Regions from separate parts of the Homo sapiens genome. Here all the other regions are linked to region 2. Evidence: promoter capture Hi-C in 16 types of primary human blood cells and fetal thymus (Javierre and others, 2016). All regions are on one chromosome and are shown on one strand. Each heading gives the region's core, a stretch centred on a gene start or on the middle of the fragment in contact. The rest is flanking DNA. Distances are from core to core; before and after follow the strand shown.

Region 1 (2,866 bases), core at 89-2,588, 150 kb after region 2:
TACTGAGGAAACTCAGAGACCAGCACCGGTGCAGGTCTTCGCATACTGAGTGTGCTGGTCCCCTGGGCCCACTGTTCTTTCTCTATACTTTGTCTCTGTGTCTTCTTTTCTCAGTCTCTCGTCCTACCTGACGAGAAATACCCACAGGTGTGGAGGGGCAGGCCCCCTTCAGGTCCCTGAGGACCCAGATTGTTTTCTGCCACTGTCTAGAGGAGAGAAGGGCTTGTAAACAAAAGCACTGTAGTATGCAGGCATAAAGAACCTTACTCGGCTTGGGGGTGTCAGGGAGGACTTCTCAGATGAGGAAATGCAAGGGCTGGCCCTTCAATGACACACAGGAGTTCAGCCAAGAGGTGAAGTGGGCAGGGAATTGCAGGCAGAGGGATTGCAGTCCTACTGGATGAAGCGGCCTGGGGAGAAGATGGGTATGGCGTGAACTGTGTGTGTGCACGCGTGTGTGTGCATGTGTATGTGTATGTGGCGGGGAGGTGGTGGCAGATGACAGCATATGTGTGCCGTCATCACCTGGTGGTGAGTAGAGCCATTGAATGGTTTTGCATGGAGATGCAACAAGAAGGCTACTGGGTCTTCTGTCTTGTGGAAGACGCTGCCGCTTGCTGGTTCTCAGCATATAAAGAGACCCAGGTGCACAGGCTTTAGGCTAAGGGGCCAAGGAGCCCCTCCCACCACCCTGGCCTGGGCCAAGAAGCAGGGTGGGTTCCTTGGAAGCTCCAGAGCAGGCCCTGGTCAGAGCTGGGAAACTCTGGAGGGCTCTGAGGAAAAGAGCTCTGTGTTCATGGATGACCATGCAGGGGGTAGGGCAGGGCCCTGGCATTCAGAGGTGAATGGGTGCCGCCTCACCTTTAGAACCAGACCCCAGAGCAGGGTCCAGCCAGCACCTCTTGCTGGTGGACTGCATGGATGAGGCAGCCTCAATGTCAATCAGGGGCTGATTGACAACTCTTCTTCCCAGGCCGCTTCATCCAGTAGGACTGCAATCCCTCTGCCTGCAATTCCCTGCCCACTTCACCCCTTGGCTGAACTCCTGTGTGTCCTTTAAGGGCCAGCCCTTGCATTCCCTGAGTCATGGTGGTCCTGTCCAGGGGCTGACACCTGGCCCTGGGGCTGCTGGGGAATCACAGAGACAGCTCCCATCCCTGCCCCTGCTTTCCCCAGCCCTGGCACAGGGGTAAGTGGCTTCTACGAGCCAGGTGGAGACATAAACAAGAGAGATGATGTCCCTCCCTCGCAACTAACCTGCCAAGGTAGAAGAAACAAATGTATCTGAAGATAATCAAGGTCCTGACAAGTGACAAGAGAGAAATAGAGTGAAGTGGATGATGGCATGGGGGTGGGAGGGTGTTTGGAAGCACGACGTCGGAGAAGGCTTCTCTGAGGAGGGGAGCTTCAAGCTAAGCCAGGGATGGGAAGGAGCCTGGGAGAGGGGGCCAGCAATGTGAAGGGCTTGCAGCTGAGAAGGAACGAGCTGGCGGAGAGGTGACCGAAATGGGGTGGACAGGGGCCAGAGCACACAGGGCTCCGTAGACCATGGCCAGGAGCCTGGTTTTTATTCCAAGGGCAGTTGGAAGACACGGAGGGGTTTTAAATGGAGGAGTGGCATGATTGGATTTATGTTCTAGTCACAACTCTGGCTGGGGTGGGGAGAATGGGCTGTGGGGGGAGTGGGGGCGGACTCAGGGAGACCACAAGCAGCTGCTGCAGAGAGGGTGGTGAGGCCTGGACATGGCAGGGCAGTGAGGATGGAGACTTAGGCTGCAGGTGGAACGGATGGGACATGCTATGGATTAGAATGGGGGTTGAGAGGGGAAAAAGGACCTATTAGGACTCAGGTTTTTGGCTTGGACAACTGGGAGGGTTATGGTGACATCTGGTGAGATGGGGAAACCGAAGAGAAGAGGGATTGGGAGGCAGGGGGATATGAAGAGTTACTGTTCCATTCTGGATGGCCTCAGTTTGAGAGGTGTTTTGGGCCTCTGGGTGGAAGTAGCAGGAAGGCAGGGGCAGGTGTGAGTCAGAAGCTCAGCAGAGCAGGATGACCACATGCAGGCATTCAGAAGCATGTGGAGAAAGATGATTCAATGATGCGGGGAACGTTTGCAGTGTAGAAGACAGTAGATACTTGGCAGCTGTAAATACACGAATAACATTCAGAGACCTAAGACTCACGAGACCACATGCGGGAAAGTGTATAGATAAAGAGAAGGGGGCTCACGACTCAACCCAGGCGCTCCAACATTAAGAGATTGGGAAGGATGAGGGGAGACTAAGGGGCTGCCAGTGAGCAGCAAGGAGAGCTGGGAAGAGAGTGTTTCAGGAAGGAGGGGTGGACACCTGGGCCAGGTGCTGCTGGGAGGTGGAGGAAAGGCTACCATCTGTGGGTTTGCAGTGGGGGCTGGAGCCAGCTGGGGACGGCTGAAGAGTGTGAGGGTGAGGAGGTGGGCTGTGAGTGAGTCGCCGAGTGTAGACAGTGGGCATGGGAGGCTTTGCTGGGGATGGGATGGTGGGCCAGGGATGACATACCAGAAACTTGTTCAGATGTGTTCAGGGTGGAAGACTTGGCATAATGGCTAGTGGGAACACACTACTGCAGAGACAGATGAGACAACAGAGATCCTGGGCGCATGGCAGGAGGGCGGTTTCTGTGGGAGGGCAGGGGAGAAGGTGGGCTTGTCTCTGGAGCCTCTGGTCACACCTGGGCTAGACTCTGCCATGCTGCCCACCCCTCCACCTGCCTGCCCTCCTCGATAAAGGCAGACGAAGGGCGAGTGCGTGATTTGAAGGCAGGGGGGTGATTTGTAGCCCCACAATTACAAGAGGCCCAGTGGCTTAAGTTTTCAGGAAAGAA
Region 2 (2,895 bases), core at 308-2,807:
ATTTTTGTTGATTTCTATCCCCTTGATTATAAAAGTTATGGGTATGTATTATAATTTCTAAAATGCAAATAAATATAAAGAAAATAAATATAACCCATAATTCCATCACTACAGATAATCATTGGTAAACTTGTTGGTGTGTTTCTTTTCTACCCATGTATATCACATAAGTAGGACCATACTGTGTATAGTGTTTTGCATCCATTCTTTTACCTAACTTTATATTGTAAACATTTCCACATCATTAAACATTTCTCCAAGAACAATTTTTAATGGCTGTATTTCATGGTATGAATATTACATAAACATTCCCCTATTGTTCGACCTTTAAAGTATCTAACTTTTCTATGCAATACACATTGTGGTGCTGAACAACTTTTTGCATACATATTTTTCTGGCAGCTCTTTTTAGAAAAACAACTTCCAGAAAGTTGATTACTGGGTCAAATAATAAGAACCTTTTTGAAAATTTTGATTCTATATTACCAGATGGCTTTCAGAAAGATTATATCAGTGTTCAAGGCCACCAGTAATGTGTTTGTGCACATGTACGTGTGTGTGTGTCTCCCATCTCACTAACTATACCCTTGCCAACCTGCATTAGCGTTTATTTTTTGGTTTTTTGTTTTTTAGTCTTTGCTATTTTGATTAGGTAAACCTGGTTATCTCTGTTCTCTTTTTAGTTTTATGGATTCTGTGTGAGGTGAAGAGGCCAAGTTTTTTTTAAGTTTGTTCAGGGAACAGTAGCCAGGGATCAATGGAAGTGGCACCAGATGCAGGTGGAGAAAAGGGTTCAGGGTCCAGAATCCAGCGTGGGGAGAGAAGAGGGAGGCAGAGTTTGGGAAGGATCTCTGCTGTGGGAGTGGTAAGAACTGGGAGGAGCCAGACAAACAGCATTAGAACAACTGGGTGTGGGGGGCAAAGGCCTCCCACAAGAGGGAAAATAGGGAAGAGATTAATTCCTGCTAATGCATTTAATTATATTCAGTGAAGTCTTAGGGACTTCCCTCCACAAGTTCCCTTTAGGTCGGATTATCTACCCCTTGGCAGTGGGGATGCTTGTTGGATAGACCCCAGAACGGCTGCAAGTGAATCAACCTGTGAGTGTCAATAGAGAACCAAGGCCAAGGCTAAAGCAATGGTAATACATGAATACTGAGTACTAACTACAGGCCAGGCACAGTTCTAAGCAGTTAACTTATATTAACTCATTTATCTTAACCACCATATAAAGCAGGTACTCTTACACTCATTTTACAGACGAAATAGAAGCACAGAGAAGTTAGGTAACTTGCCCAGTATCAGTCAGGAAGTAGGTGAAATCTGGATTTGAACCCAGACATTCTGGCTAGAGTTAAAGCTCTTAACCACCAAATACAGAAATGTGGGAAGGGGAGCCAGAATTGCAGGGCACAGCCTCCTACCTACGCCGGCCGGAAGAAAACAGACGACCAAGTGAGATTGCAGGGGCAGGACTTCTGCTTAAAATGAATCCTGGGACAATGATAACAGCTACCTTTCACTGGGCCCTCACTTCGTGCCAGGCACTGTGTAAAGGGACTTTACGTTTAATCTTCACAGTAACCCCTTTGAGTGAGGTACTGTCATTACCCCATCTTACTGATGAGGAAGCTGACGCACGGAACTGGCCCAAGACCCAGGGTCGGCTCAGGCCAGCCCTACCGCGGTGTGGTGGCTGCCCACGTGGCGCCCAGGAAGAGAAAAAAATGGCGAGGCGGGGTCGGCAGGCGGAGGCGGGGCCAGGCGGGGGCGGGGCCAAGGGCCGCAGAGCCTGGCGCGGAGCCGGCGAGATTTTGGTGGGGTCTCACCTGTTGCGTGACTCCCCCACAGTCCGGCCGCGGGAGTCCGACCCTGAATGCCCAGGGAGTGTTGAGAGAAATCTGGACGAGTTTCGGGTCCCGCTCCCTTGGGAGCACGTGGCCTACCAGCCTCTCGATTGCAGGGTTGGGTGGTCGCGACACCGGGGTCGCCTTGAGGCCAGTCCGGCTGCCGAGGTCTGCGGGAGTCCACCTCCGGCCAGCTGGCAATTTTGAAAGACTGCCTTACTTTCCCCATCTCAGTGCCAGGGCAGGGGCCCTTGGAGTGACTTGGCTGGGGTCTGTGGCCCGATCCCCCTGCCGTCCCTCAGGACCCGGGCTTTCTGCTGTACAGACTTCTCGTGGGCAGCCTCCCCTCGGAACTCGGGCATCATGGCCTCAGGTGAGTGTGTGTACGTGTGTTGGAGGGAGGGTCTCTGGGACAGAGAAGTGCTGTGGCCAGAGTGACAAGAGGGTGGGAGTCACAGCACAGCAGCAGGACCTAGGGAAGGCGGTCAGCTCCTCCCAGGAGGGCCTGGGGAGCAGAGCCAGAGTGTGCAGAGACAGAGGAAAAATCCAAAGAGGCTAGGGTCTCTGTCCCAGACCCCCAGACAAGGGGGTCTCCTGGCCTTCCTGCCTTCCTGGGAGGTAGCTATTTGGCGACGGTGGAATTTTCCCGGGACAGGCCCCTCCCTCCTGGGCTGGGATTCTCGGTTCTTCCCCCTCCTCCCAGAGCTGGGCTACCCCGGGAGCTGAGGGTCAGATGTGGAAGGAAAGTGGGTGCTGGGTTTTCACGGAGTATGCCTGCCCTGCCCCGGGAGGACTGTGTTTGAGCTTGGACTCGCTCGCTGCTGAATTCCTGTTTGTTATTCTTTTTTCTTCCAGGCTAGCTGGAAGGACCAGCTAGCCTGGACTTTGGCTTCTTTGCCCGGGAGCCCTGGCATGATGGGGTGAGGGCTCTTGGTGGGTTAGTGGAGAGCTGGGGGCTGGCCCTTCCCCATCTTCTTTTCTACCCACCCCCTCCCCGCCCCCCGCCAGGCCCAGCCACCATCAGTCACGTCACTCCTGGGACTGAGGA
Region 3 (2,918 bases), core at 202-2,701, 170 kb after region 2:
CAGTCATGCTCTGTCCTCTTCTTCTCTGGCGTTTATTGCTCCTCCCAGCTCTGCCCTCTGCACACCCATCCTTCAGTGCCTGGGTGTGGCAGAAGAGATCTCCTCCCCCCAGCTCTCCTGCTCTTGACATCAGCAGGAAATTCACAGAGCTTTTACTCTGGATCCAAACAAACACTCATGTGTTCGTGCATCTAGCTGAGAGCCCAACCTGGGTCTGGGCTGGCCTGGGAGCCCTGGGGGATACAAAGGTCCTTGTCCTCAAGACACTCCCAGGTGGAGGGGAATAAGCCCTGTCTACCGCCAAGAGCAAGACCACTCAATACCCAACGGATGGTCCCCATGAGCCAATGGCGGCCGTGGAAACATAGAGACCCAGTTCTTCCTGCTGTGTGCTTAACTTTCATGGGCTCATGGGTGCTTCACCACTGCTCATTAAGGCCAGCTCTATTATGGTACTATTTCACATTTGAGGAGACTGAAGCTCAGAAAGTTGACTAAACTGTCTGAGATTGCTTAGCTGTCAGAGGCAGCACGTTGGTTTGACCCTGGGGTGGTTGACTGCAAGCCCGCTTAGTGCATGGCCATTTCAGGAGAAGGATGTGAGAACTGGCAGGGATAGGGGGTGGTCGCTGGGGCACATCCCCAGTGGGCATCTTCCTGGACTTTCTCCAGGATGGGGAGTGATTCCACACAGGCTGACATGGGGTGTGATGGGCCTGGCTGCTGGCATGTGGCTCCCCGGCAGTGCCCCCACCCTTTGCTGGTCTCTCACCCAGCCCTCTCTCTGGTCTCCGGTTCTGTGGCACGTGCCTCTCTTCTCCCAGTTTGTCCCTCCTCCTCCTCCTAGACAAAGGTAGCCTGATACTGTGAGTCAGGATGGATTGGGAGCCAGGGTCATTAACTCACCTGGGCCTGTCAAATGGGCGTAAGCACTGATTATCCTGCAGGGATCTGGTGGAACTCAAACCATTGAAGATTACAGAAGGAAACTGCTATAAATATTTAGAGGCATGAGTCATTCATTCATTCGGCAAGTATTTATTGAGCGCATACTCTGTGGCAGGCCCTGCTCTGAATTTTAGGGATATTGTCCTGAGGAAGACAGCCTTAGCTCCTGCCCGCATGGGGCTTACAGTCTAGAGTGGGGTGGGGGGCAGACATTCAGTAGCCATGCAGATGAACACATAGGTACAAAGCAAACTGTGTTCAACAAGATTGTCAACAGGGTTGGAGAAATGCGTCCACAGCCTTTCCTGAGTAAGTGGGATTTCAGCTGAAGGATGACAAGTCAGCCTGCACAGGGCAGGGCAGGGGCCCCCAGGGCGTGAGTGCAAAGCCCTCGAGTGGCGGACAAGCCAGAGGCTTGCGACAAGGCAGCATGAGCTGGGGCGGCGCGGGGGGAGGCTGGGGGCTGACTGGCCGGACTGGGCATGGCCTTGCAAAAGAGAGCTATTGAAGGATTTAGTTTAAGTGGCTTAACAAAAATAAACCTCTATCTCTTTGACCTGGGTCTCTAGAGCTTCTCCTGCCTCCTTTGCCCTCAGTGTCCATTCTGTGTGATGAGAAGTTGGGCTTGGGGGAGGTCTCAGCCCTCACCCCCTTCTCGGGCAGAAGGGCAGCTGATTGAAAGCAGATGTCTCGCCCTGGTGGGGCCCAGCCCGGCTCCCCAGTGCTGACCTCAGACCTGCACCGCTGGCATGTCCAGGCCGCAGACTCTCTGTCAGCAAAGCCGCATCCGTCCTGCAGAGAGACGATCACTGTGGTTGCCCACACCCCCAACCCAGCAATTTCCCTACCACGGTGAGAAACCTCCCGTATTCTGGGGCTGGGGCCCAGCCTCCTCCTTCCAATTGCCTGGGGGAGGGAGAGACACCAATTAGGTTCTTGGAAAGGAACTAGGTTAGAAGAGGTATCTGTCACCCCTGCCCAGTTCCTCGGCACACCTGCACCAGCACAGCGCCAAAGGAGGCCACCATTATCCTATTCAGCATGTCCTTGGCTCTGGGCTAAGTGCTTTATGTCTTCCCATTTAACCTTCACAAACAGCTCCATGAGGCCCAACCGTTAAGGCAGTGTGTGACTGAGGCTCAGAGAGGACACCTTGTCACACGGCTGGTAGGTGCAGAGCTGGGATCTGAGCCCAGGTCATCAGGTCTGAAGTCTGTGACCCCAGTGGTCCTCTGCAGGGGGCACTGGCTGTTGCTCCTGTGCCTCTCAGACACTCCATGTGCCTGTTGCACCTGAGGAAGCCCAGGTCAGCTCCAGGCTGCTCGTGCCTCCAGGGACCTGCGTCTTGGCATAGGGCAGCAACATGGGCCCAGAGAGTGCTGGTGCGGCCTCTAGGTGGTGGCCTGGGCTCTGGACATTGTCAAGGGCAGTATGCTTGCTGTTGAATCAGTTTGGACCATGCCCAGGGGTCTCTTCGCAGAGGGAGTTACCATTTTAATTTTTGCCTTTGAACACCCCTGGGAACCACCCCCCATGCACCTGCCCTTTTGGGGCTGCTACGTCCATGAGGCCTCTGCTCCCCGGCCCCCACCATGCACCTGGAGGCATTCAGCAGGCTCCACAGGTTTCCCAGAGATGCCTCTGGTGTCCTGCAGCAACCCTAGTGGCCACTTCCCTCACTACCCCTTACTCTCAGGCCACCCTAGAACAGTACTCTCTTTCCTCTGCTCCTACAAGGCTGCTCCCAGCCCATCTGCAGACCTATCTGCCTCACCCCTGGCCGTTTCCCTGGTCTACTTCCTCTTCTCTGCCCATCCCAGCATCTCTGCCTGATCCCACCCCCTCAGAGAGATCATTTTGCTCTCAGTCAGTCAGCAAGCATTTACTGAGCTGTAGAGATATCCTGGCTGAGAGCTCAGGCTCTGAAGCCTGACGCCTGGGGCTACAGAAATGAAACCCTCCCGTCCCCT

The links. Contacts are between HindIII fragments. The CHiCAGO score rates a contact against its expected background, and 5 or more counts as called.
Region 1: a fragment that was not itself captured here is called in contact with the fragment with the promoter of GNAT2 in region 2 in 5 of 17 cell types (megakaryocytes, M0 macrophages, M2 macrophages and 2 more); the score reaches 9.4 in megakaryocytes.
Region 3: a fragment that was not itself captured here is called in contact with the fragment with the promoter of GNAT2 in region 2 in 1 of 17 cell types (megakaryocytes); the score reaches 5.4 in megakaryocytes.

What each region holds. Positions count from the first base shown.
Region 1 is chr1:109,767,444-109,770,309 of GRCh38, forward strand. All of the region lies in intron 1 of LOC124904258 (a long non-coding RNA gene), which reads left to right. Among named protein-coding and RNA genes, the nearest start is that of EPS8L3, 5.0 kb to the left of the region's middle. RefSeq lists an enhancer at 2,136-2,866. The HindIII fragment of the contact is 5,200 bases long and covers 1-2,866 here.
Region 2 is chr1:109,618,059-109,620,953 of GRCh38, forward strand. GNAT2 (G protein subunit alpha transducin 2) reads right to left here and starts at 1,558. Exons shown (of 9, transcript NM_001377295.2): 1 at 1,425-1,558. It overlaps AMPD2 (adenosine monophosphate deaminase 2), which reads left to right and starts at 1,779. Exons shown (of 19, transcript NM_001368809.2): 1 at 1,779-2,220; 2 at 2,856-2,895. RefSeq lists enhancers at 946-1,476, 1,457-1,506, 1,477-2,005, 2,527-2,576, 2,536-2,895 and a silencer at 1,697-1,886. The HindIII fragment of the contact is 17,616 bases long and covers 1-2,895 here.
Region 3 is chr1:109,786,670-109,789,587 of GRCh38, forward strand. No RefSeq gene overlaps it. Among named protein-coding and RNA genes, the nearest start is that of EPS8L3, 24 kb to the left of the region's middle. RefSeq lists enhancers at 178-1,061, 1,062-1,945. The HindIII fragment of the contact is 4,535 bases long and covers 1-2,918 here.